4 separate regions of the Homo sapiens genome follow, and all the other regions are linked to region 1. The links are contacts of gene promoters, found by promoter capture Hi-C in human tissues and cell types (Jung and others, 2019). All regions are on one chromosome and are shown on one strand. The core of a region is centred on a gene start or on the middle of the fragment in contact, and the rest is flanking DNA. Distances in the headings are between cores, read along the strand shown. Region 1 holds the start of CYBRD1 (cytochrome b reductase 1). Region 2 overlaps TLK1 (tousled like kinase 1). Region 3 overlaps LOC107983995 (a long non-coding RNA gene). Region 4 has its middle 37 kb from the start of TLK1.

The links. The method cuts DNA at HindIII sites, captures the fragments that hold promoters and counts their contacts. A contact is called where the count stands out against the background at its distance.
Region 2: a fragment that was not itself captured here is called in contact with the fragment with the promoter of CYBRD1 in region 1 in 2 of the 25 tissues and cell types used here (heart right ventricle and mesendoderm cells).
Region 3: a contact is called between a fragment that was not itself captured here and the fragment with the promoter of CYBRD1 in region 1, in 1 of the 25 tissues and cell types used here (small bowel).
Region 4: a fragment that was not itself captured here is called in contact with the fragment with the promoter of CYBRD1 in region 1 in 1 of the 25 tissues and cell types used here (liver).

What each region holds. Positions count from the first base shown.
Region 1 is chr2:171,519,542-171,526,639 of GRCh38, reverse strand. CYBRD1 (cytochrome b reductase 1) reads right to left here and starts at 4,166. Exons shown (of 4, transcript NM_024843.4): 1 at 3,902-4,166. The coding sequence starts at 4,094. RefSeq lists silencers at 3,528-3,597, 3,748-3,857 and an enhancer at 3,968-4,077. The HindIII fragment of the contact is 9,103 bases long and covers 851-7,098 here.
Region 2 is chr2:171,051,143-171,058,407 of GRCh38, reverse strand. It overlaps TLK1 (tousled like kinase 1), which reads left to right. Exons shown (of 21, transcript NM_012290.5): 5 at 211-257; 6 at 1,842-1,937; 7 at 3,236-3,325; 8 at 4,555-4,647. Among named protein-coding and RNA genes, the nearest start is that of TLK1, 110 kb to the left of the region's middle. The HindIII fragment of the contact is 3,750 bases long and covers 2,287-6,036 here.
Region 3 is chr2:171,243,921-171,251,329 of GRCh38, reverse strand. It overlaps LOC107983995 (a long non-coding RNA gene), which reads left to right. Exons shown (of 3, transcript XR_923576.2): 3 at 6,323-6,697. Among named protein-coding and RNA genes, the nearest start is that of TLK1, 87 kb to the right of the region's middle. RefSeq lists an enhancer at 5,828-7,027. The HindIII fragment of the contact is 4,689 bases long and covers 781-5,469 here.
Region 4 is chr2:171,194,153-171,201,158 of GRCh38, reverse strand. It overlaps a transcript of TLK1 not described here. Among named protein-coding and RNA genes, the nearest start is that of TLK1, 37 kb to the right of the region's middle. The HindIII fragment of the contact is 3,807 bases long and covers 950-4,756 here.

The DNA of each region.
Region 1 (7,098 bases), core at 2,917-5,416:
GGGAAACATTTCTTTCAGAGAAGCACAAAGCCTCTTCTAAACCCTTCCTCATTCATGTTAGAGTCTGTTAGCTAGATTTCCCACTAGTTTAAAATTTTATTTTAGTTTTAGATTTCCCATGATCTGTTATACTTTAATTTAGAATATATACATATTCCAAAATATACTTGGAGTATGGGAGGTGGGGAGAGAGAGGGGGAAAGGAGGGGAGAGAGAGGGGGAAAGGAAGGGAGAGGGACACAGAGGAGAAAATGGGACAAGGAGAGAGAGGGTGAGCGAGAAAGGGAAAGGGGAATAAAGAAGGAGAGGGAGATTTGTTTTGTAACTTCTATGTTAGCTTTGCTTCTTTGGAGTTTATCCCTCTTTTTTTTTCGAGACAGAATCTCACTCTGTTGCCCAGGCTACAGTGCAGTGGCACAATCTTGGCTCACTGCAACCTCCACCTCCCAGGTTCAAGCAATTCTCCTGTCTCAGACTCCTGAGTACCTGGGATTACAGGTGCCTGCCACCACGCCCAGCTAATTTTCGTATTTTTAGTAGAGACAGTGTTTCACCATGTTGGCCAGGCTGGTCTCGAACTCCTGACCTCAGGGGATCCACTCGCCTCAGCCTCCCAAAGTGCTGGGATTATAGGCGTAAGCCACCGTGCCCGGCCAGAGCCTACTTCTTTTTTTTTTTTTTTTTTTTTTTTTAGACGGGAGTTTCGCTCTTGTTGCCCAGGCTGAAGTGCAATGGCAAGATCTCGACTCACCGCAACCTCCGTTTCCCGAGTTCAAGCAATTCTCCTGCCTCAGCCTCCCAAGTAGCTGGACTGTGCCGGCCCAGAGCCTACTTCTTAAAGGTGTTTCAAAGGACTCATACTTGTTCTTAGTTTCAAATATTGTTTACTATTTGTATATTGCATTTCTAAAGCATTTTATACTTAGAGTAATAACTGTACTTTAGCCTTCTCTTCTTCATCTCCAAATATTTGTGTATTACAGAAGAGAAGAACTCCAATACATCGTGTTCTTTGTTAGAGATTTGAAATCTCATAGCCTAAAATTTTCCTCCTTGCAGCAATCACACACGGTAAAAAAGTCTGTTATAACATGGCGAGTCTGTAACATGTGGGTCCCTCGCAGCCTATAAAGTTTATTTATTACTCCCCCTCCTTCCACTGGAGCCTTCCTAATACTTAGGGTGAGGAATGTGGATGGGTTGGCCAAGATATGGAAGAACTGGGGAGAACTATACATGTGCCTACATGTATGAAAACATTTATGCTCATGTCAATTAAATGCATTATGATTAAAGTGATTTGCACATCCAGGATCCAAACAGGAAACAGGATGAGTAATGACGGGACAAACTCTGGACCATTGATACAAATACAGTAATTGAACCTAAAGAAAACAAGATCGGCCGGGTACTGTGGCTCACGTCTGTAATCTCAGCAGTCTGGGGGGCCGAGGTAGGCGGATCACTTGAGGTCAGGAATTCGAGGCCAGCCTGGCCAACATGGTGAAACCCCGTCTCTACTAAAAATACAAAAATTAGCTGGGCGTGGTGGTAGGCATCTGTAATCCCAGCTACTGGGGAGGCTGGGGCAGGAGAATTGCTTGAACCTGGGAGGTGGAGGTTGCAGTGAGCCAAGATTGCGCCACTGCACTCCAGCCTGGGCGACAGAGCAAGACTACGTCTTGAAAGAAAGAAAAAAAGAAACAAGATTTTCGTAAGAGCAGCAGATGAAAATTGCCAAAATTTACACATTTTTGTCCAAGAGTTAAGTATGAACAGATTAAGAGAAGTACAAAGTTTAGAGAAATTTAAAAACCTTTTAGAAAACCGTATATTGGACTCTAACATGAATGAAGAGTTTCAAAACATATTTTAGATGAAGGTTTTCGCTGTCTAAAAAGATTTGGCAGAAAATAAGCATATTGCCATAAAAGCAGAGAATCCAACTTTGACGATAAGGTCACTGAAAAGACTTAAAACAACTTTCATGGGTAAGTTACATAACTTCTCTGCCTCAGTTTACTCTTACATACATGTGATGTGACATAATGCACTTAGTGGACACACAGCATGCAATCACTATTAGCCATTCTGATGTCTTCTCCTCTGTGGCAAGTCAGGCAACGAGCAATAACACTTGTGTTTCCCTTACCCTCAATTATGAGAAGATATTCCAAGACCTCCAGAAAGCTTTTTGGTATTAGAAGCTGCTCTGAAGAGTTGGGTAGAAGAGGAGACTGGCTCTACTCTTTGAGCAAACAAGGTGTAGACAGCTCGGGGCCAAACTTAAGGGCTCCACCACGAAGGAAAGAGTGCTTCTGACAGTTACTTTGGAACTTGAGTATGTTTTTTTCTTATAAGCATAGTGGCAAAATAACTGAGAGTTACGCAACGAAATGCCTTAGGTGCCCAGTGGTGCTCACACCCTGATGCCGATCTCACACCCTGATGCCGATCTCACACCAGGGAAGCCTTTGAATGCTGAGGGTTAGTAACACCTTCCACTACATTCCAGAGTGGGAGAATGCTGGCCACACTTGCCAAAGCTGCAGTACAAGTTTAAAACAACCAACAAAAACAAAAGCCAAAATCACTTTTCTTTAGGAATGAGGTCAGCACTCTTTTGCACACTCGTTTGTGGGGAGTTAAATATTTGGTGAAGAAAAGGCAGCCTGCCCGCAGGCAAAGCTAGAGATTTCGGCCAGTGGGCATATCTTTCCAAACCCTTGCTACTCCTCTCGATTATTTTCTGCGACATAACACCACTCCACCCCTTGCTGCCTTTCTCTAACTACTTTCTGAAGGCCGTGCCTTTGGGGAAGTGGTTACAAATAAATGGTGTTTGCGCCAAAAGCTAGAGGTTCCTCCAGCTACACGGCAAACCGAAGGAAGCAGTCAGGACATTGAGAGGCACTACACAATGACAACAAACATTGCCAGCGACTGCTGAGCCCCTCCCCCGCGCCAGCCTCAGCCCAGAGAATGCAGGCCCGGGGCTGGCTCGCCGCGGGCCAAACACGGACGCAGCTTGCGCCGGGGGCATCCCGAGCAGAGGCATCCCTCGGTGCCAGGCAGCCGCGGGCCCTCTCCGGGCATCTCCCACCCGGAGTGCTGGGCCAGTGCCCAATAGGAAGCCCCGCGGGGGAACTTTCGCCACTCTTCTGCCACATAAACAAGTCGGGCTCAAGACCGTCCAATGACTGGGCAGGGCGGCGAAACACACTTGGAAGTCCTGGCAGCTTCCCGGACTCGACTGAGTTTAACACTCTAGGAGGAGAGGAACCCAGGGCGGATGCTTCACTCGCCCCCCTTGGCCAGCCCCTTTACCCAGGGCCGAGGATGTTACAAATACGGGCAAATTCTCGCTCCGGCAATCTTTTCCCCGCTGCCTTCCCCTCCTCATCTGCAGCCTGGAAGCAAGTTCAGCAAAAGGCTGAGGCGAAAGTGTTTCCGCGCCCCCGATCGCGCAGGCTCGGTCCACAGGGGCGACTTTCCGGGGCGCGTGGGCTGCAGCGGCCCGACTGCGCGGCGCTCCGGCATCGCGCCCGGGCTCAAGTTTCTGGGTCTTGGAGGCCCCTCCAGTGCGTCCTAGCCAGTCGCCGCAAAGAGTTAACCAAGTGGGGCCGGCCCCGCTCCGCCGCCCCCAGCAGCGCGTCTCCACCGCGCACCCCCGGCCCCGCGCTCGCGGCGATCCTCCTGAACCGCAGCTCTGTCCCGCCCCAGAGCCAGCCAGCCTCCCTCCCGCCCAGCCGACTTGGCTTCCCGCGCGCTCCTCACCGCACTCCTCCGGGCCCCGCGATCCTCCAGCACTTCCTCAGCTGGAAGGGGCTTCACGGAGGACCCTCTGCCCCCGCCGTTCTCCCCGCTTTCCTCCCCGCACCCCCCCAGGAGGTGCCAGTACCGATGCCCTGGATGAAGACGAAGCCGGTGACCATGAGCACTGGGTGCCAGTTAAACTCTAGTGCGCTCCCATCCCAGCCAAGCCCCTCTCGGTAGTGGAGGACCCAGACGAGGGCGAAGATCACCGACAGGAAGCCGACGAGCAGTGCCGACCCCAGCAGCGCCAGGAAGCGCCAGTAGCCCTCCATGGCCATCAGCGCCCCATACTCCGCACCGCGGGGGCCACAAGAACTTGGAGAGGCGGCGGCAGCCCTCTGGGTAGTGGCCGGGCGGCGGGACCGGGGCGTCGACTTCTTGGGGCTGTCTCCGCCTGCGGGGAGGGACTTTCTGGGCTGCTGGCCCGGAATGTGGGGCCTCTTGGGGGTGGGGAGCTGGCCCCAACTCAGAAATGGGCCCCACCCCCGGGATCACGCGGCCGCCGAGGGCGCTCATTGCCTGGTGGCCTCACCCTCTCCCTCGTCCAGCATCCAAGCTCGCAGAGGGCTTCAGTAACAGACCTAGTTAGTTGCTCAAAGAGAAAATTCCGAGGATTTTATACTCACCACTTGCTTTTAACACTTCCCGTGTCTCGTCCTTATTTGTGGGGAGGTTGAGTAGGGCAGTGGTGCGCCCTCTTGGTTAAGAGAAGAGAGGGATCCGTTGGGTAGGGTTATGTGTGTGCTTTTAACTACTAACGAAGCCTCCTTAGCCACAGTGCTGGAGAATTGGCTGTCTCTGACATCAAAGGGTGTTAAGGAGGAACCTGTAAGGTGGTGTAAACTAAAAATAAAATCCTAAGCCCCTCACTGACTGAATGGACCTCCTTGGCCAAGCAGACCCCAGAAAAACCTTAAAGCTGAGTTTCTAGCTACAGCCGGAAGGGAAGTCTACCCCCTCCATTTTGGAATTTAGACTCAACAGCTGACTAGCATTAATGTTTAAAATAGAAATCATAAGGCGGACAGAACAGACTCTTTGTAGCAATAAGACATCAAATTATAAAAAGGACCTAAGTCACACACTCCTACACTTAAGAAATAAACTATGGTCTAACTGCCACAAAGGTTTTCTTTTCCTCTAGAGGCTAAACAAGCACTGGCTTGAGATAAGCAATATTAAAACAATTACAACTTAATCAGTTCACAGATGCTGACCAGCTGAACCCCTGTTGCACCAGCCAGAACTACAGCTTTCACTGGGCTGATTTCAGGAACTTTTTCATGATAAGAAGACCGACCATGGACCGGTTCTGGCCAGTGTACAGGGATTGTGCACTTGTATGCATTCACGTCCTGAAAAGACCTTTTGAAGTGTAGGTTTGAAGTAATACATTTAAATGTATTTGAAGTAATACAATTAAATGTTAAGTCTCCACCCCAAAGAGAACATGTTACATGCATGTTTGTTCAATATGCATGTGTAAGGACCACCTCCATTAATATTCATAGCTCCTCCTGTAACCTGTTACGTATGTATGTTTGGCCAAACTGTTCAGCATAAAGCTCCTACCCCAACCCCTCTGCCTTCCAAGTGCCTGTCTCTGGTCTTAGGCCAGAGGCTATGTTTATCAGCCTATGGAATGGCCTCCTTGCAGGCTATAACCTTTTATAAGAAATAAAGTCTCCTCTTTTTTCAAATTTATAATTTTTTGTTTTAAGTTAACAGTAAAGGCCAGGCGCAGTGCCTCACACCTGTAATCTTAGCACTTTGGGAGGCTAAGGCGGGCAGATCACTTGAGTCCAGGAGTTTGAGAACAGCCTGGGCAACAAGGTGAAACCCTGTCTCTACTGAAAATACAAATGCATGCACCTGTAGCCCCAGCTACTTGGGGGACTGAGGAAGGAGGATCACTTGAGCCCAGAAGGTCGAGGCTGCAGTGAGCTGAGGTTGCACCACTGCACTTCAGCTTGGGTGACAAAGTGAGACTCTGTCTCAAAAAAAAACAAAAAACAAAAAACAAAAAAAACCCAGTAAACCGGGTCCCCATGAGGTGTCTCACAGCTGTAATCCCAGGGCTTTGGGAGGTGGAGGCAAGAGAATCACTTGAGCTCAGGAGAGGTATGATCGCACCACTGCACTGCAGCCTGGTGACAGCTAGACTCTGTCTGGAAACAAAACAAAAACAGCATGGGCAGCGGTGGGCTTGGCCTTATCCTGCAATGAAACTACTTGCAGTTTGCTCTTGAGAGAGGGAAGACAGGAACCTCCTGGACCTGGACTTGCCGTTTAGTGTGACAAATGGATTTTCAAAGTGCCCGCCCACCCAAACCAATTTGAACCAAAGCCCCTCCTTGATGAAGTGAAGCTTGCTCCCTGCCCTCTTTCCAACATTATCCTCACCCTTCTCCACTGGACAAAAACAATGTCAGCATTATCTAATGCTATTATAAGAAAAAGGGTTCTGACTGCCAGGGCTTCCAGAATGCATTTGGGAACGTTCACTTCTAGCCCTCTTCTGTAGCTCATCTCCAAGGACTACTTTGCTATATTGTCTTGTTGCCGTCTTGAAAGACCTTAGAATGTGCAGGAAGTATACGGGGATGATTTTCAAAGCAGGCTAAGGAAATAGGAGTGGCAAGCCATGGTAGTAGGGCAGGATTAAGGGCTCAGAGTAAAAGGCTGTAGACCTCACCTGTGTCATTATTTTTCCCTTGGTGGGGAGAGTAAGCAAATGGAAGAGAAGGATACCTTTCCCCAGCACAAGGCTTTCTTTGATCTGGTCCAGCCTAGCACCCCCTGCCAGTCTCTTACCACAACCTGACTGGCCCTGATGTCCTTGGCTGTAAACTGCTCTGGCAGCTTCTGACCACTTCCTACCCACGCCACTGCCTCTAAATTTCCCTGACCCCCATCTCCACTGAGAAACCTTCCCTGAGTCTGCCCCTGCCCAGACTTTTATATCCCACTGACCTCCCCATCCAGTGCCTCCTTGTGTCACCTGTCAGGATGTAATATAAGGATCTGCTTCTCTGGCTGTCTCCACTCTCAGACTGCCCTATTGAAGGCATTGATTCTCTAATTGATCATTTTATTCCTCCTTGGGATGTGGTAGTTACTCAATAAACATGTGTTGGGAGGCTAATGAGACTGAGTGTGTTAATCAGGGTCCTGGCAGAAAACAAACAGCATATTGGAATTGAGTAATTTCATAATGAACAAGACTGTTTATGAAGTTGTGGGCAGTGTAGGAAACCTCAGGGTTAGGCAGTGCCCCAGGTC
Region 2 (7,265 bases), core at 2,912-5,411, 470 kb after region 1:
TAATAATGTAGTTTTAAAACAGGACATCACTTACATCATTTATTTGTAAGATTCTCCAATAACTGGAACTTTTAAAAATTGGCATGTCTCTATTGAAATGTCATTTGATTTTCATATTTGTGAAATTGATAGCTGATGTCCTGCGGACTCTTAATATTTTTTTGATGCCCATCACTACCCTACTAACATCATGCGCTTCTTATATTTTAGGAAAAAGTATTGGGGGACGTGGCCACAAAATTAGCGACTATTTTGAAGTAAGTTCATTGAGGATTGTCTCCATTTCCTAATTCAGTACTATTCTGCTGTGAGCTAGAAATAATTTCTTAGAAGCACAAGGTCAGCTTTTGATTACTTACTTGATTAGAGCAGAGCTTTATTACTATGTGATATCTTTCTAGGAAAATTAGATTTACATTTACATTGGGATGCCATATCATTTTTTTCTAAATACTTTCTCACATAGTTGTTTATAATAACCTGTAAGATAGGCAAAATACATATTAGTGTTTCAGTTTACAGATGATGAAACTGAAGACCAGAAATGTAAAGTAGCCTACACCGTAATTTTTTGAATTTTTGCAGTCAGACCGTGGCAGCAGTGACCTTGAGCAATAATAGAACACTAGGCATAAATGGGTTAACCCATTTAAGGCAAAGTCTGAATTGAAGAGTAAAGAATAGAAGTTAAAGTTCACTGGCTCTCTAGTTGAGAATTCTTTCTACTATCAAGTGTAATTATTAAAACAACAAACATGGTCTACTCAATTGAAAAATATTTATGTTTACTTGAGAGAGCAGAATTGGCTGATTAAGGGAAGGACTGATTTTTTTTTCCACCACTGCTTTCTTTCTTGGGTTCGTAAAATCTAAAGTAAAGCAGTTGCTGACCATGAGATACCTGATGCTCTTTGGTTGAGGTCAGTCACTTACTGATATCATTAATTAAGAACCTTTGCCAAAGGTACGATGAATTCAAATCAACAAATGTCTCTTGAATGCCTACTATGTGCTAAATTTTATGCTAGGCTCTATTGATAAAATAAATAAGGCAAAATCCCTAGGTTGCAGGAAGTTGTTTAATGAACATGCTGGGAAGTTCCTATCTGTGCTGTTCATGTAAGTAAAGTAATTAAACAAGAAATGATGAAATGGACAATAATCTACACCCCCAGAGGAACTTTGCTGCAGCAAGTTATTTTCTTTTCCCATCCTTCGTATGTGAACTTGAAATAGGAGAAAAGATAGCTATGGAATAGATCAGTTGGCTTCTCTTCATATGCAGCTAAGTCATGCACTTTGTACAGAAGAATTGATTTTTTAAAGATTTTGTGCTGTTAGAGGGAAGGGACCTATTATAATTCTTTTTATATAGTGCCATGAACACTTGGGTATCTTGAGAATGATATTCTGTTTAAAATAGTTGATTATGTTCACTAAGGTCTATGGGTAAACATTTTGAAATTTCTTGGGATTAGGGACTATATGGCTCAATAAACATTTGTAGGGGACCTGTGCTAAGATTTGGGGGGAAAACAAAATATGTTTATTGCTTTGGAGGAATTTATTTGTCTTTGAGTTGACCAAAATAACAGATGATAGTCAGAATATAGAGTAATAAGGATCTTTATAAAACAGTCTCGTCATGTTCTTGTGATCAGTAGTCTCTTAGTCTTTTAGGACTTGGCTGACCTTGTGTTTTTTTTTTTTGTTCTGGACCCATTTAAATGACTACTTATTTTAAAATTAGGTATATTTAGATTAATTCTTAATGTCATATCTGAAATAACTGTCTGAGCCTGCTTTAGTAAATAATAATGCTTCCTTTTTCTTTTACTCAGTACCAGGGTGGAAATGGCTCAAGTCCAGTAAGAGGCATACCTCCTGCAATCCGTTCTCCTCAAAATTCACATTCACATTCCACTCCTTCCTCATCTGTAAGTCATCTTTCAAGTTTTTCATGTGTAGTCTTTGGGAGGGTTATGTACACTGAATAAGTTTTATAATTTGTTGTTTTTTATTGAGAACTTCTATATAAATAAGTTAGCATTTATCTTTTAATACATTATTTCTGTGACATGAATTAAATCCTTTTAAGTTATCTGGTGCTATTGGAATTTTATTTCTGGAAGTGAGCCTCTTAAAGATTTTCTGAATTAATTATATCCAAGAAGCATTGTTTATGTTAAAAGAATGCCTGTTGAGTCTGTGGGACTAACATGAGTACTCTTGTATCAGTCTGTATTCAGTTGTTGATTCCTAATTTATAACTTTCTTAACAATTGAATTTCTTAACCACTAAAATGATAGCATAATTCCTTTCTGGGAATCCTTAAGAAAAAGGCAGGGTATGTAGTTCAGTATAGGAAAAGAATCATGGACTTAAAATTATCTTAAACTTTTTGGTTTTTTCATAACATTTTAGATATAGTTCTTTTATATGCATTGTTTTGCATATTGGATTTCATTTTTAAATTTACTTTCATTGTGTGAAAGTTCAATATCTAACTAGAAAAACAATATTGGTTTTCAGTAATTTAAAGAGGAATTAAAGATTTTTAAAAATCAGAGTTTCACTTATTTATTCAAACATCTTGTTTTTATGTCTTGTGTCCCCTTCTTGTCCTTTGTCTTTAGACATACTTGGTTTTGTTTTACTCATTTTGTACCTTTCAGGATATCACATTGCCGTGTATAAAAGTAAGGCATAAGATTCAACAGTAACTAAGAGTTGTAGTGATAGCGCTGATACAATGTTATAATCTGCTTTCAGTGAGTGTCTTTTTGAACTAGTGACCAGATAAACTATGAAATTCATTGATAAATTGATATTAAACTACATATGGGCGTGTATTATTGTCCCTAGTAAGTTTGTTTTTTCAACTATCATAATCATTGTTTAATATTTTTCAGAATAATTTATTTGGCCTTATTTTTTTTTTAACTGTATGAAAGCATTAAGATTTCTTTTATGGCACTAGAATGTAAGCTCTATGAGGGCAGGGAATATATTGTTGTATTTCTCACTGGGTCTTATGTAGGAGGTACTTAATGAACACTTGTTGAATAAATGGTGATTAAAGGTTTTAAAAGTCAATTATGTTTCAATTTAGGTATTATTCTGATAGAAACTTCTTCAGAAATGTTAAGTAATTGTTGCTAATTAGAAATCTGTTTTGTTTTGTGTTTTTTTTTTTTTTTTTTGCTAATATAAAAATTTTAATAATTTCTTTAGGTTCGACCGAATAGCCCTTCTCCTACTGCATTAGCATTTGGGGACCACCCTATTGTACAACCAAAGCAATTATCCTTTAAAATTATTCAGGTAAATGATAATTAAAATGTTTTTTTCTATGGCTTCTAAGAAACCATTGACTAACTTACTAACAACTAAGATGTCTGTTTGTTTTATATGTAGTCATAAAGCAGAATTACACATCAAGAAAGATAACTTACTAAACAAAAACAACAGAATTTGTAGGAAGGAGTGAGAAACTGAAACACACAATTTACTATCAGCTTTTTAAACAACCGTTAACATGTCAGTTCTGTTTACTGATTCTTTCTGAACTTAATTTCCAAGTATATGTAATTGATATTTTGTGAAACTGCTGTATTTTTTAGAAGTGGACATTAAAGCCTCTCATTTGACTGTATTTATTAAATACGTATATGTGACAAATTATAAACATTATTTGAATTATTTGTATATTTTCTATACTTATTTAGTTTCATGAATTTGAGCACTAAGTTTTTCATTTTAATTTTTTACATGTGACAGTTTCTGAGTGGCACTTTCTCAGACTGGGGTTTGGGAGAGTAGATCTTACTCTTCAAGCTCAGCTTGACAGTTTATTTCTATTAGACTGTATTTGTGAGGTCATATCCAAACTGTTGTGCATGTATCAAAACCTCTTTCTTTGGATGATCCTGAGGCTAGGATTAGAAGTACATTCCTTTCAGCCACTGAGTAGATCATGAAAGGTTTTGCTGCATGAGATGTTGGTCAAAGGACATAAAATTTTAGTTGGAAAGTAAGTTCAAGGGAACTATTATACATCATAGGGGCTACAGTTAAAAACAATATTTTGTGTATATGAAAATTGCTAAGAGAGTAGATTTTATTCACACCACAAAAAAAAGATATGTGTTAAATAACTTGATTTAGCCATTCCACATTGTATATACATATATCAAAACATCGTGTTGTGTACCATAAATAGATAGGTTTTTACTTATCAATTTAAAAAAGGTCTTGCAAAATTCAAAAAAATCAACTAGAGGAACGTATAGCACAAAGCAGCGGATATATTGAATTATAATGAGGAACATCAGTATTCTAAGTAATTGGCCTTTCTAGATGTTTCTTGGTAAGTCTGTAGCATTTATACACTTGAAGTTATTAAAACTGCACTAAAACTTTTTGAGATTCACTTTACATATACACACAAATATATTTTTCTTTACCTTTTGAATTTGGAGTAAAATCTAGTTTTATGTTTGCTTGAAACAACATATATAATGGAGATAATAAAATAACTTTTTTTCATTTAGACTGATCTCACAATGCTGAAATTAGCAGCATTAGAAAGTAATAAAATCCAGGACCTGGAAAAGAAGGAGGGACGTATAGATGATTTGCTCAGGGTAAGTAATGAGTCATAGAGGGGAAAAAAATTGAATAAATTATTTGGCAACAGTCAAACTGTTCAGAAAATACTTAGCATTGTAAAAAAATCTGTAGCTAGGCCAGGCGCAGTGGCTCATGCCTGTAATCCCAGCACTTTGGGAGGTCGAGGCGGGCAGATCACAAGGTTGAGAGATCAAGAGCATCCTGGCCAACATGGTGAAACCCCGTTTCTACTAAAAATACAAAAATTGGCTGGGCATGGTGGTGCGTGCCTGTAGTGCCAGCTACTTGGGAGGCTGAGGCAGCAGAAATGCTTGAACCCGGGAGGTGGAGATTGCAGTGAGCTGAGATCACGTCACTGTACTCCAGCCTGGCGACAGAGTGAGACTCTGTCTCAGAAAAAAAAAAAATTCTGTAGCTAGAACTCAATAAGCTTTTTCTGTTAGTTTAAGTACATGATTGAAAAATACCAATTTTAAAGTGAAATATTTTATTAGATCTTCAATAAATTGGGAATTGAGAAACTGTTGGAGAACTGGAAGTTAATAACATTTATATGACCAACTACCATAACACAAATAGCCATTTCATGTTAAAGTTTATTGATTTTATTATATGCCTGACATCTGATACCTATACGATGAAGTAACTGCTGCAGTTCTGTAGGATTTTTAATGGAAGCTTTATTTAAAAATACATCTAGAAGTATACTTAAGAATGTAAGGGTTTAAAGCAGCAGTTCTTACCCCTTGATGCTCCTTAGACTCACCAGTTGGGAAGGGTGAAAGTACTAATGCCTGAAACTCTACCCTGAGGGGTTCTGATCAAGTTGATGATGATGTAGGTCTTGGACATTGGTAGTTTTAAAGGCTCTCCCAGATAACTTTAATTTAAGACAGCATTGAGAACTACTGGTGTAGAAACTCGATAAAACCAACACCTGTGATCCTACTGTATTTGACAGTGTCTTTAAAACATCCAGTGTGTCTTTTTCCTGATCCTGTCATATTTACTTTCTCACACCCATTTACCATTTAACCACTATTTTAAATTTTGTATTTGTGATGCCTTGGTGTTTCTTTATGGTTGTATTAAATATGTGCTTACATTCTTCACAACATATTATTTCAGTTGGTTTTTGAACGTTAAGTGAAATTTTCCAGTATGGACCCTTTTGCCCAGCTTGTTTTCAATGAAATATATCAGAGAGTCATCCACTTTGATGAGTATAACTGTAGTTTGTTCATTTCATTGCAATATTGTAAGGTGTTACAAGTATACCATAATTTCTGTATCTTTTCTGCTTTTAGTTGACATTTTATTTCTACTTTTTCTAGTATAAACAGTTCTAAGAACATTCTTTGTACATGTCTTCAGGGCACATATGAAAGAATTTTTCTGTGGTATATGTTTAGGAAAGACATAGCCAGAGTACAGGGCATACGCATTTTCCATTTTACTGTATAATACCAGTTATTTCTCAAGGTTTTTTGGTCTGGTCTTTTTTTTCCCCCGCTAAGTGACAGGGTCTCACTGTGTCGCCCAGGCTAGAGCACAGTGGGGGATCATAGCTCACTGTAGCCTCAAACTCCCGGGTTTAAGCAATATTTCTACCTCAGGCTCCCAAGTAGCTAGGACTACAGGCTCATGCCATCACTCCGGGCTGATTTTTTTTTATTTTGTAGAGCTGGGAGTCTACAGGCTGGTATTGAACTCCTGGCCTCAAGTGATCCTCCCACCTTGGTCTCCCAAAGTGCTGGGGCTATAGGCATGAGCCACCATGCCCAGCTGATCTTTCAATATAAATTATTAGTCTTACTGAAATTGGTTTTGGGTATGGCATGATGTAGGGTTTCATTTCAATTTCTTTCTATATGGATAACCAGTTGTTCATCCCCATTTAATTAAAAGCTCATTCTTATACTGCCAGCTCTATCATCATAAAATCTTGTTTCCAGTATACAGGTGGATCTGTTTCTGTGTTCTGTATCATGTTTCCTTGTTCTGTTTGTGTCTCTACACAAGTACTGCAGCATCTTTTTATCATTGTTGATAAAACAATTTTTATCAGTTGTTTTTGGCTGTTAGTAACAGTGAACATAAATAACAGTACTTCAGATGAGATAGAAGCTTATTTTTCAAGAGAAGAACAGAAGTGGGCAGCTCAGATATTATTACTCCTCAGTATCATAAGGGACCTTGTCATTGTTAGTTCATGGCTTATATCTCAAAGGTCACATCAAGGTTCAATATATCTATTAGGGTCACAATTATATCTGTGTTCTAAGCAGATAACAGGAGGGAGGATGGGAGCAGAGAACACAAAGCACAATTCTGTGTGCAGCCTTCTTGGATATCTCATTGAACAACTTCTGCTTGCATCTCATTAACCATCCTTCGCTCTAAGGGAAGCTGGGAACTGTAGTCATTTGGCTAGGCAGATAGCAATCCAGGATAAAACATTGAATTTCCATTATTAAGGAAGGAGGAGGCTTGGGTGATCATAGTTATGTAGCTTTATGTTAAGTCATGATACATGGTTAAACAGATATCCTCTTCTTCTTTTTGGCTATTTTTGGCCCTTCACAGTCTTAGAGAAATTTTAGAATCAGGTTTCAAGTTGCATATGCATCAT
Region 3 (7,409 bases), core at 1,876-4,375, 270 kb after region 1:
TCACACTCTAAGCTGGCTGATAGAAGAAGGAGGAATCTCTTGGTTTGTCTCTTTAGCAGTAAAAAAGCACGGGACTCAAAAGCCTTTTTCTGCTGCTTCCAGGTCCTGTTTTTGAGATTTGGAAGCTGCATCAGGTCATTTTGATGACCTTTCTGAGCCTTTTTTTTTTTGAGACGGAGTCTCTCTCTGTCGCCCAGCCTGGAGTGCAGTGGTGGGATCTCCGCTCACTGCAAGCTCTGCCTCCCGGGTTCACGCCATTCTCCTGCCTCAGCCTCCCGAGTAGCCTGGACTACAGGTGCCCGCCACGACGTCCGGCTAATTTTTTTGTATTTTTAGTAGAAACGGGGTTTCACCATATTAGCCAGGATGGTCTCGATTTCCTGACCTCGTGATCCGCCCTCCTCGGCCTCCCAAAGTGCTGGAATTACAGGTGTGAGCCACTGCGCCCGGCCGACCTTTCTGATCTTTATATGAATTGAGTTCTGATCATGCATCTTTCTCTCTGCTTTTCTTTTGCCTGCATGATAAAGATTTACAATGGAGGCTGCGCGTGGTGGCTCACCGCCTGTAATCCCAGCACTTTGGGAGGCCAAGGCAGGTAGATCACCTGAGATCAAGAGTTTGAGACCAGCCTGGCCAACATGGTGAAACCCCATCTCTACTAAAAATACAAAAATTAGCTAGGAATGGTGGTGGGCAGCTGTAATCCCGGTTACTCGGGAGGCTGAGCCGGGAGAATCTATTGAACCTGGGAGGCAGAGGTTGCAGTGAGCCAAGATCGAGCCACTGACTCCAGCCTGGGTGACAACAGTGAGACTCCATCTCCAAAAAAAAAAAAAAAAAGATTTATGAAGGCAAGAAGAGAAAGATCACAGGACTGGATATCAAGATCCCTAGCTTTGCCATTAAATGAGTTTTGTCACCTGGACAGGGCACTTTGGCTCTCTGTGCCTCATTTTCCTAAGCTGTAAAATTAGATTCCTAATACTTGCTCCAGTTTCACTGTTACTAAGAAGATCAATGATCCCAACAGATGTCGACAAGATCTTGCTCTGTCACTCAGACTGGAGTGTGGTGGTGCAGTCATAGCTCACTGAGGTCTCCAACTCCTGGGCCCAATCTATCCTCCTGCTTCAGCCTCCTGAGTAGCTGGGACCACAGGCCCACACCAACACACATGGCTTTTTTTTTTTTTAAGTTGAGACAGAGTTTGTTTTGATGCCCAGGCTGGTCTTGAACTTCTGGGCTCAAGCCATCCTCCCACCTCATTCCCAAAGTGCTAGAATTATAGGCATGAGGTACTGCACCCAGCCTAAAATTTAAAATGCAGCCCAAAGTCATATTTGAATCCTTAAAGGGAACTACTCAGGATTTCAAAGTGCCCTTCAGGCCCCCTAAAATAGCATTTTACTTGTGACCAAGGTGTCAGAAGCTATAATTTGGTCACAAGTTACACATGACAGAAACTACTTCTGGCTGATTTAAGAAGAAAAAAAAAACAACAGGATTCTCTGCAGTATCTATGTCCTGTGTCACTGGTTCAAAGTCGAAGGCAGATATTTCTAATTGGCTTTGCCCACATTGTATAACACCACCTTCCAGTAAGGGAGCTGGGAAATGAAGATCTGGCATTTTCTGCTTCTGAAGTGGGAAGTAGGCACTTTTTCCCACTAAGACTCATAAAGTAGGATTCCCCAAACATAGGAAGAAGTTTCAGATGCTGAGTAGTACCCCAAGAATAATAAATATCTCTTATGTGGAATTTTTAGTTGGGTGGGGGACTACCTAATATTGGAGAAACTGCAAATATAAATCCAACACAATTGGCGTCTACCCTGGGTGTGTTTCTGGCACTCCTATCTGTGACCCCTTATCCATTCTATAACCTATTTCTATGAACTTAGTTTTCTCAAACTTTGTGAAATTTGCTTCTGCTAGCCAACTCTGAGGCTCACTTCTGACTCCCAGCTAAGTCACAACACTTTTCCCATAATTTCCAACTTGGGGCACAACTCAGAACTGAAACTATAAGAGAAAAATAAGACACACAGCAATGTTGACCTCTACCATACTCTGTGAAATTAGCAAATAGCTTGTTTTTTAGGTAGGATATCAGTAGCCCAAATTATTAGAATGGAATGTGTTTTTATATGTACTCTTAAAGTTATTCTTTCAAATTTTGGAAATGTTGCTTCTTATTATCAGAAATATTCCCTAAACAGTTTGTGCAAGCATTCTCCTGATGGTGCCTGTGAGTGCCAATGACATTTTTAAAAGCTTCTTTTCACTTTTGTATTTGATGAATGTAGAACTTAAGCACTGATCTGAAGATGAGAAAGGCCTTTTCATATCAAAGTTTCTAAAGAATGCCCCCAAATGATCAAGATGCTTGTCAGGGTATTGAGGCAAAGTGACTTGCGGGGTGGCGGAGTTGGGGGGTGGATATTCAAAATGAAGGCGGCAGGGAGGTTGGAGGCCTCCTTATTACCCAGTGGATTTGCCAGCTCTCTTTGCTTTTAGGCAGCAAGGACAGACTATGAGGTATGTGCTGCAAAAGTTATTTTCAGAGCTGTAAAGATTTAATCATTTCACTGTTTTTAACCAGAGGAACCTTGTATTTCTTCTACTACATTGGAACAAATTTTAAAAGGAAAGGACACAGGCAGTCCCTGACTTAGGGTAATGGACTCAAAGCACTTACTCACTCCTTCCCTGCCCATGCTATCATTACTGCCGTTCGACAGACTGCACACAGATGAACTCTCATTCGTGCACTCTGCAAATACTTGTAAAGTACCTGTTTTGTGACCAGTACTGTGTGAGGCAGGCAGGAATCTGACATGAAGCCAGTAAAGCTTCAGCTTCAAAGACCCTCAGTGTCATGTGCCTCTTCCAAGAAGGCACCTAGCGATATATTTATGTGGTCATATGTTTTTGCAAAATTTGCAGAGGTAAGATACTCTAACCACAATTGATTAAGATTACTATCTCTTTCCACTTTGACTTCCTCTTTACTTCAGTTCTCCCTTGTGTCTAGTGGCATTGGAGATTCACAGTCATTTTGAGATTCCTCTAAGGTAATTTGGGCTAGGAATACATTTATTTGGGCTTTAGTGGGATACGTTTATGTGTTTGGGCAGCCATTTCTGTAAATAGTTAAGCTATGCTGGCCATCCCAGCTTAGGAATGGCTGGTAGGAATACTTGTACTCTTCAACATGACAAGTCATCTGATGTTGTGACCTGATGGTGCAGGGCATTGATGATACACTGGTTAATAGGAGTATGGTCAATACAAAGAACAGTTAAGTTTAGTCACTGTGTCATAATTTGAAATGCCCTGAAATGTTATAACCCATCTATGTAAGACACTTGGTAGAGGTTTCCAAAATTTGATAGCATTTGTAAAAATTTACATGACTTAGCAATAATGAATTGGGGAACTGAAATAAGCTTTTCTAGGAAATATTAGAAAACATGTTGATCAACCATGCTAGAGAAAAGCATGAACGACCTTTCTATTCAATATAGGAAATGATCTTATAAATTATTGTCATATGAAAGAGGTAATCGAAGGCTGGGCCCAGCGGCTCATGCCTGTAATCCCAGGACTTTGGGAGGATGAGGCGGGTGGATCGCCTGAGGTCAAGAGTTCGAGACCAGCATGACCAACATGGTGAAACCCCGTCTGTATTTAAAATGCAAAATTATCTGGGTGTGGTGGTGCACACCTGTAATCCCAGCTACTTGGGAGGCTGAGGCAGGAGAATCACTTGAACTCAGAAAGCAGAGGTTGCAGTGAGCTGAGACCAAGCCATTGCACTCCAGCCTGGGCAACAAGAGTGAAACTCTGTCTCAGAAAAAAAAAAAAAAATAGGAAGAAAAGAAAAAGAAAGAGGTAATCGAAGAAGACAAGCCAAAAAAGTAGGAAAAATATAGAGATGTGTCAGGCAGTTAATAAAGAAAAACATTTCATTTTCATAGATGTTGTGTTTATTAGCTTTTTATACTTGTAATTGGTTGTGATTTCTTCATACCTAATTTTGTATTCTTTTGAAAAATCCTTCCTTCCCCAAACTATGTAAGCTTCAGGCCTGCAGAACCTGGATTTCCCCCTGGTATGTGAATGAAGTTGCATTAAGGCCCATGTTAGTCTTCCATGTGCTCACAGTCTAATAGAACAGACAGACAAGGAAACAAGCAGTTCAACATAGTGTGACAAGTGCTACAATGTGGCATCATCTAACCAACTGGGGAAAAATTGATCCTAACCTTGCATATATCCATGTGTGGGTTTTTTCTGACACCAAATGTGTGGTGTTGAAACTGCCTTTGCAAAATTATGACTGAGATAGCAAAAGAGATCTAACCTAATTGACTCCATCTTCCTTCTAACCTCCAAGCTGTCCTTGTCCATTCCTGGACATGGGCTGAACTAACTTTGGGAGGAACTTAATTTATAGTTTAAAACAAAGATGATAACAGCCCTTTCCCAAAACAAACCTCCTTCTTGCCTGGGGACTAGACCGCCTTTGTAGGACTAAGAAATTAGTCACAAGATTAGAAATTATGATTTAGGAGTCATGCATCTGGAGGCTACAAGATTCTGACTTTCCCTGAACTGCTCCTAAGATCACTGCCTGAGATATTTTGCAGACTCTGCACTTGATGGATCAGCTGGCACCACCCAGTTCGATAAACTGGCTCATTTGATCTTGTGCCCCCTCCTCACCAGGAACTGACTCAGCACAAGAAGACAGCTTCAACTCCCTAAGATTTCATCTCTGACTTCACCAATCAGCACTCCCAGCTCACTGGCTTCCCCCCGTCCACTAAGTTGTCCTTAAAAACTCTGATCCCCGAATACCCAAATGCTCAGGAAGACTGATTTGAGTAATAATAAAACTCTGGTCTCCCACACAGCCGGCTCTGTGTGAATTACACTTTCTCTGTTACAATGCCCCTGTCTTTAGAAATCAGCTCTGTCTAGGCAGTGGGCAAAGTGAAACCATTGGGTGGTTACAGTGTCTTTTCCAACACATTGTTCCAACATCCATTCACCAGTTATCTCCCACCAACTGGGTGTTCTTCAATTCCATTCAACTCTGATGCTAACTACCCAGAGTTAGTGCAAACCCCACAGGTTAAAGTCATGGTCCCACAAGACTGCCCCCACTTCAGATGCCAGGTAGAATTCCTGGGTTTCTAGGCTACTCACACTTCTATCCTATTTGGCTGCAAATTTGGGGGTTCGCATCACCCTCCCTCATGTTTGATAATTTGTTAGAACAAATTGCAGAACTGAGGGAAGCACCTTGCTTGTGATTACTGGTTTATTATAAAGGATGCAACTCAGGAACAGCCACATGTAAGAGATGCATAGGGCAAGGCTGCGGGAGAAAGGAAGTGGAGAGCTTCTGAAACTGTCCTTGTACAATCACCCAACGGGTGCTTCCAGCTTGCGGCACAGACAAAACAATTCACTGAGACCATGGTATTGCAGTAAAGAAAGAGCTTAATTAACCCAAGACAGCCAAGCAGAAGGACGGATGTTATCACTCAAATCAATCTCTCCAAGAACTCAGGGGCTAGGGTTTTTATGGATAGTTTGGCAGGCAGGGGCTAAGGAATGGGTGCTGCTGATTGGTTGGGGAATAAAAGCATAAGAGTGTGGAAAACAGTCCCTATGTGCTGAGTCTGCCTCTGGGTGGGGCTACAGGATTGGTTGAGTCATAAGTCACCAGTCCAGTTGGAATTAATCAGTTGCCTGAATGCAAAAGTCTGAAAAACATCTCAAAAGACCAATCTTAGGTTCCACAACAGGGATGTTTCCTACAGGAGCAATTGGGGAAGTCACAAGATTTGTGACCTCTGGCCACATGACTCCTGAGCAGTAAGAGATTAGAGAAATTATGCCTGCATTTTGGCAGAAGTCAGGCCCCTCCCATTACAAAGGCAGTTTCAGTCCCTGAACAAACAAGGGATCAGTTTCAGGGAGGGACTCTTCTCATTCTTGCTTTAAACTATGAACTATATTCCTCGCAGTTACCTTGGCCTATCCCCAGGAATGAGCAAAGACAGCCAGCCTGTGAGACTAGAAGCAAGATGGAGTCAGCCATGTTAGATTTCTCTCACTGTCATAATCTTTGCAAAGGAGGTTTCAATCACAGAGTTGACAAGAATTTCATGCCAGGTTCTGGACAGAAATATAGTTATAATTAAGCATGAGGCTTAATTATAGGCTGCATTTTGGCCTACTTACTTGTAACTGAAAGTCACATAGCACTGGATACTGACCATTTGCATCCACATTGTTTCTATAGATGGGATTTCGGATGTTGGAATCATGAGGCTTTTGTTTAAGAGTTGCTTAAGATGTTCTTCAGATCCTGAATTCCAGCAGAACAGCTGACATCCACAACCAGTTTGAGGATCCCCACAGAAGAGCTGAATCAACATGAGAATGCAGTTTCTTCATCTCTCCAGTCCATGACTTCACCCTGCAATCCCCACAGAAGAGCTGAATCAACATGAGAATGCAGTTTCTTCATCTCTCCAGTCCATGACTTCACCCTGCAATCCCCACACCTCAGCCCACTCCAAACCCCTTACAAACTCCTCAGGGAGGCAAATCTGAGGTTTCCTTCCATCTCCTTGTTCAGATGCCCTATGATTATTAAACCCTTTCTCTGCTGCAATCCTTGAGGTCAGTGTGTCCACTTGCCATGCTTTAGGTAAGGAACCTGTTACAGTCACACTTCCATGTCCTCTTCCACGGTGCCACTCTCCCACCACATCAATGTTACCAACCCAGAAGCTCTCTAAATTTCACTGTTCAAGAGTATTTATCAAAGCTTTGTTTTGTAGGTGTGTTTGATCAAATCATTGGCCATTGGTGATTGAGCTCAATCTCCAGCCTTTCTCCCCTCCCGGGAGGTTGGAGGGTGGGGTTAAATGTTCAACCCTCTGATCCCATGTTTGGTCTTTCTGGGGACCAGTCCCCAACCTAAATCTATCTAAGGCCACCCTGAGTCACCTCATTAACATAAACTCTAGTATGGTCAAAAGGAGCTCATTATGAATAACAAAAGATACACCTATCACTCAAGAAATTCTAATAATTTAGGAGCTCTGTGCCAGGAACTGGAGGCAAATAAAGACCAACTATATTATACCACAACTCAACACCATTAATTTGATTTATAAAGCTATGAAGTTAGACAGTGAGACAAACTTTCCTGAACCATGTACGCAAAGACCACCCCCAAAATTTCCCCCAAAGTTACTTCCCGAAGAAGCTTTGTCAAAATTTCCATTAGAAGTTATTTTCGGCCAGATGCAGTGGCTCATGCCTGTAATCCCAGCAATTTGGGAGGCCGAGGCAGGCAGATCATGAGGTCAGGACTTCAA
Region 4 (7,006 bases), core at 1,604-4,103, 320 kb after region 1:
TAATCCCAGCACTTTGGGAGGCTGAGGTGGGTGGATCACCTGAGGTCAGGAGTTTGAGACCATCCTGGCTAACATGGTAAAACCCCCTCTCTACTAAAAATACAAAAAACTTAGCTGGGCATGTTAGCATGCACCTGAATTCCCAGCTACTCAGGAGGCTGAGGCAGGAGAATGGTTTGAACCCGGGAGGTGGAGGTTGCAGTGAGCTGAGATTGCGCCACTGCACTCCAGCCTGGGCTACAGAGAGAGACTCTGTCTCAAAAAAAAAAAAAAAAAAGAAGGGATCTGAGCCAAGTGCCTAATTTGACTTGTCAGGAGCAATTTTTAAATGATTTAGATTAATAAAAATAATACAAACTAAAATCTGATTGATTCTAATATATTTCTGTTGCTAATTAAGACTTAAAAGGACCTGATATGAATCTCCCAAATAATTTGTAAAAATACAGATGGGGTCTCACTATATTGCCCAGTGTAGTGCTATTCACAAGTACTATCATGGCACACTATAGCCTTGAACTCCTGGGCTTGATCCTCCCACATCCTTCTCATGAGCAAATGGTATTACAGGCATGCACCACCATCCCCAGGTTCCAAATAATTTTGACTTTGATCCAATTTTATTTAGCTTGCCTGAATTTTAAATTCCTAAGCTTAGGCCTACCTTAATGGATCCCAATACATTGCGGCAAGACTGTAAAATGTGGGCTGCGCAAGTCATTCTAACAGTTCAAAGAAAGGAACCATGGCTTCCAGATAGTCATATGATAAAGATAATTCCAAACCATTGTTGTTGCACAGACCAAAATTTTAAACTCCTTTAAGTAATGATATCACGCAACTGAAATTTAACAACACAGGATGGGGGGGTAGAAAAAACAAGCACTTGAAGGATGAAGCAAAGCACACTTTAAATAATGTAATATAACTGTGGAATGCTGACAAATAGTATCTTGATGGGAGGGGAAAGTGGAAACGCCACAATTTCTATTTCTACCGTGTTTTCCAAAGACACAATTTGCTTATGTTTATGTGTAAACAGGGCTTTATTTTCTAATAGTATTGGTTATGATTTAATCAGGGGAAAAAACTCTTGCTTGGCCTCACCATCCAGTCTCTCACATTTATGCTAGAGGTTCCCTGTTTTCCAGAAAAGGGAATTCTTGAGTCATTGGCCATTATTGTAAGCCATGTCAAAGGTGTGCCCTCTGCTCAGCAGTTACTAATGATCTATTGTGGGAAAGCTTCTTTTTTTACCTTACACTTGCTCTGTTGAAAATATCAACAAAATCTGAGTTTATTTGCTTACCAGTATTCCGTATGACAAAGACATGAAAACATCAAACATTATATTCCTTGATTTCTACTTTGCAGAAACCTTTCAGTAAATTAGGCTCTGAAATTTTCAGATTCTATTTCGAATTTGTAATATGACCCTCCTCCATAATTGAAAAGTTTTTCCCCAGCAAAAGGGACCACTGGATTTACTACTTTGACTGTGCCCCATCCCAAACACACACTTATAGGAAGATCCACTGGCTGAGGGAGCCCTCGAACTTCAGACTGATTCTGGGCTTTAGGACTCAAGGCTCAGAGGCTCAGACAGACTCTGCACTTTGTGGTTTGTTTCTGATTTTTTTTTTTTTTTAACCAGGTCTCACTCTGTCACCCAGGACAGAGTGTGGTGATGTGATCACGGCTCACTGCAGCCTCCATCTCCCAGGCTTAGGTGATCCTCTTGCCTCAGCTTCCCCAAAAGTGCTGGGATTACAGGTGCATGCCACCATAGCCAGCTAATTTTTAAATTATTTGTAGAGATAGGGTCTCCATATGTTTCCCAGGCTGGTCTGTAATTCCTGGGCTCAAGCAATCCTTTCACCTTGGCCTTGCAAAGTGCTGGGATTATAGGCATGAGCCACTGCACCTGATGCTCTTGGGGAGTTTTGAGTTCAGAATGACCTTGGCATGATTTTATGGGCTAGCCTAGAAAACTGATCTGGCAGATACACATGCACATTCCTAATATAACACTACTTTTAAAATAAATTACTTCCAAGCTGCAAACAACTTAGTTACAGATGGCTCTTTGGAAAACAATCCTTTCCCTTTTTTGAAAAACAAATTTTGGGTACATGGTTCTTTCATTAGAAACTTATTGGATGGACAGGACTTGAGTTTTACTTTTAATAATTCATGTTATATATTACCAAAAATGTGATTCTGGTGATGTCAAAGTCATGCTTTGTTCATTTGAATCTATTAAATAAAGTACTTATATGGGAAATAAAACTTACTTTAAAATTGATCAACAGGTAAATAGATAGGAAAGGTCTTAAATAATCATCAGTAAAGAACTAAAACAAGCAAACATTTGCTTTTCTAGATTGGAGGATAAATTTATCAGAGTCAGAATTTCCTCACCATGCAGAGTTTAAAGGCCGTTTATAATTATTCCTCATCTCCATCCTTTAGTCAATCAGGCCTCTTTTCTAACACATCTTTGGATGCTTGTCTAACTTCCCACTCTCATCACTGCCAACCCAACCACCAACTCTATCTAGTCCCAGCTGCTCTTACAACCTGCTAATTGAATAGTTTTAATGGCTCTTTTATACATCTATCCAAATCCACTCCAATCCTCTACTTTGTCACATTCATTCCTGGATTTTTTTCCTTGCAGTTTTGAATGGGCTAATATTTCTATTGAAAATTATTCTACTCATCCATAAGACGCAAATATTTTACATTATTTTTCCAATTGAGATATAGTGGCCATGTTGAACCACTGCTGTTTCTTAAATGATGCCTCTGAGCAGAAAAGCTTCATGCTATAATTAATTGCGCTGACACATTTATAGAATATTAAATGCGCTTACACATTTATATCACACATTAAATATGCATGTCAAATACATTTATAATGTATTTCCAGCTGGCCAGCCCATGTTTCTTTACCGTTATCATTTTTTTTCTCTGTTCTTGCTTACCTCTGGTAACTATAGAACGTAGATGATACTTTCCTTAGTAAATGCTTGGATTTAAACTATGATTAAGAGGAGAAAGACCATCTCCCCTATGCAAGTTGTTCATGTAAACATTTATTGACCATCTACTCTAGGCCAGAAACCAGGGTAGGTACTGAGGATACAAAAATGGACACATCATGTCTATCCACAGGAAACTTTGTCTGGTGCAGTTGTTTCATAATTTAGTGTTCTTATAAGAATCATATAAGGGTACTAGCCAAAAATGCAGATTCTGGAACCCCTAGTTACCCCACATTTTAATTTTAGAAGTTTGGAGTAGAGCCCAAGCATCTGCATTTTAGCAAGTCCTCCAAGTGATTCTTTATTGTTTTTTGTTTGTTTGGTTTTGTTTTTGAGACAGAGTCTCACTCTGTCACCCCAGCTGGAGTGCAGTGGTATGATCTTGGCTCCCTACAACTTCTGCCTCCCGGGTTCAAGCCATTCTCTTGCCTCGGCCTCCTGAATAGCTGAGATTACAAACGTGCACCACCACGCCCAGCTAATTTTTGTACTTTTAGTAGATACAGGGTTTCACCATGTTGGCCAGGCTGGTCTCGAACTCCTGACCTCAAGTGATCTGCCCACCTCCGCCTCTCATAGTGCTGGGATTGCAGGCGTGAGCCACTGTGCCTGACCTGATGCTCCAAGTGATTCTGATGCAGGTAGTCCCTTGATAACACTTTGAAAACATCACATTGAATACTATTGAATGTTTTATATTTGTGCCTATAGTTCTGTACTGTTATCTTTTGGGGGGTATTTTCGGGTTTTTTTGTAAAAAGCTATATAAAAGAAAATATTATTTAACCAGTTTCCTTTTCCTCAAATGCTTTTTTCTCTCTCATTTTTAAATAAGAAATCTTTTCATATTCAGAGATTATCTGTCAAGTATAAGAAAATTTAATGTATGAGCGCTTTTCTAAAAACCTAGAAGTTTATCATATATTTTCCTTATTTTTTTCACCACCATTAGACCATAACACAAAACATAACACTGTTGCAATAATATTATTACTTTACAAAAGTTTAGATTTCAAAGTTTGCTACTGAGTATTTTTTTTCTTTGTACTTTCCCCACACTTAGGGTTCTCCTGCTTCCAGGAGGAAAGAAACATTTCGTTTTTCTAGTCCAACTAAAGGCCCAAATTATGACTTACGTGAAATGTAGCTTCTAGCTATATGCTCATTACTTTGAAAAAGACTATGAAAGTAAGTTTAAGCAAAGCAAAACATAAAATAACCTTACTAAGTTTTTAGAGCTATATTCATATAGGCATAGTTACTTTTGTAACTAATGCTTAAGTTTGATGGAATAGTCCTCCCAATCTGTCTTCAACTTTCTTTGCAAACTCACTGTGAAGTCTCTCATAGAACCAGGCTGACAATGGCCTCCAGACTGCTGCCTTCAGATACCATACCATTTTTTTGTATTTCCCTTGCAAACTGCTTAGTTTTTAGAGCCCATTGAAGGGATGCCCAAGCTCACCATTCTTCTGCACTGACTTCTCTGTAACCTCTGTCCATGTAGCTGGGAAGGGGTTGCGAGAGCGGACATAGAAAAAACATATAGATATATGGCAAACCAAGTAACCATGTCAATTTTTTGAGAACATTTTTAAAAAATCCCCATGAGTTTGATGTTTTCTAATTACCAGGAGACAATTATCCACATTACACTTAAATAAAATGAAAAGGTCTCACCATTTCTGGCTACAAGTCCTGGTGTGGTGGCTCACGCCTGTAATCCCAACACTTTGGGAGGCTGAGGCGGGCAGATCACCTGAGGTCAGGAGTTTGAGACCAGCCTGGCCAACATGGTGAAACTCCATCTCTATTAAAAATACAAAACTGTGCTGGGCATGGTGGTGGGCACCTATATTCAAAGCTACTCAGGAGGCTGAGGCAGTAGAATCACTTGAACCCGGGAGGTAGAGGTTGCAGTGAGCCAAGATCATACCACTGCACTCCAGCCTGGTAGGCAGAGTGAGACTCCATCTCAAAAAAAAAAAACCAGCTACAATGTCCCTCCCTTCCTTCCTTCCTTCCTTTCCTCCTTCCTTCCTTCCTTTTTCTTTCTTTCTTTTTTTTTTTTTTTGATACAGAGTCTCACTCTGTTACTCAGGCTGGAGTGCACTGGTGCAATCTCAGCCCACTGCAGCCTCCACCTTCCAGGTTCAAGTGAGTCTCCCACCTCCCAGGTGAGTCCCAGCCTCCCAAGTAGCTGGGACTACAGGCACACACGAACATTGCAAGACGGGGTTTTGCCATGTTGGCCAGGCTGGCCTCGAACTCCTGACCTCAGGTGATCTGCCAGCCTCGACCTCCCAAAGTGTTGGGATTACAGGCGTGAGCCACTGCTTCTGGCCTACAATGCCTTTTAGCTCATTGGGATCTCAACAGAAAATCTTATAAATGTAATCATTTTAGGTGTTTATCCACATGCTCCACCAAAATGAGATGTAAGAAGACAATATTTTACAAAATGAACAGTGTTGATGATTTAGTAACAATATACTTAATTTCAGGAACAAAAGACAAGGACATACTTCATTATTTCCCAGTAGAAAATAATATATATTCAAATATAGAGCTTATCCATGGTGGATTATGTTTTTTTTTTTTTTTTTTTTTGAGACAGAGTCTTGCTCTGTCACCTAGCTGGAGTGCAGTGGCGCCATCTGGGCTGACTGCAAGCTCCGCCTCCCAGGTTCACGCCATTCTCCTGCCTCAGCCTCCGGAGTAGCTGGGACTACAGGCGCCCACCACCATGCCCGGCTAATTTTTTGTAGTTTTAGTAGAGACGGGGTTTCACCGTGTTAGCCAGGATGGTCTCAATCTCCTGACCTCGTGATCCGCCCGCCTCCGCCTTCCAAAGTGCTGGGATTACAGGCGTGAGCCACCGCGCCCGGCCGGATTATGTTTTATACAAGTACTGTATTCTTCTTAGTGTCTGACATCTTGTCAGGAAAAGGGTGTTTTCAGTTGTGAAGAGTGTTTCACATCTTTAAGGTTGAGGGCTTGAAGGATTTCACTAGTTGAATCTTTACTGACAGCAAGTATACGAAAATGCATATCAGAGAAATTTTGCTGCTGACTTCAACTTGCCAGCCACAGACATTCTGCATTTTGAACTGATTGAGGAAAGGGCTGTGTTAGAAAAGGAGCAGTGAATGAGCAGAGCAGTGATTCGTGTAGTGATTGCCAAGAACCTTGTGTTTCAATCCTCCCTCTTTTTTCTAATATAACCAAATGAATTTTTCTCTTAATGAAAAATAATTACAATGGCTTTTACTTTTTTTTTTTTTTTTTTTTCCCTGAGACGGAGTCTCGCTCTGTCGCCCAGGCTGGAGTGCAGTGGCGCGATCTGGGCTCACTGCAAGCTCCGCCTCCCAGGTTCACGCCATTCTCCTGCCTCAGCCTCCGGAGTAGCTGGGACTACAGGCGCCCGCTACCACGCCCGGCTAATTTTTTGTATTTTTAGTAGAGATGGAGTTTCACCGTGTTAGCCAGGATGGTCTCGATCTCCTGACCTCGTGATCCGCCCGCCTCGGCCTCCCAAAGTGCTGGGATTACAGGCGTGAGCCACCGCGCCCAGCCCACAGTGGCTTTTACTTTTAATTTTTATTCAAATTTTATTTCACTGAACTTTTTCTCAACCCCCAAAGCTTTACTTTGTTTCATAATAAATGGTAGGGAAGTTAAAGATACATAATAAATGATCGACCTTGCTCATGTATGGGAAAAAACATCACAGGATTTCATAAGATTTCTTTACATTCCTCTCTTCTTCAGTCAATTTATTTCTGAAGGTGTGGAAGATGGAATTACAGGCCCCATTGAAGACTGTTTATAGTTATTTGGGTTGTACAGTCCACAAATGGCACAATTATATGTAGAAACCCTGATTGCTGAGGCTCATTTTTCTACACTTCCTAAGTGTTGTGTTCACAGATTAATGTGAATAAGGCTTAAAGAAATAT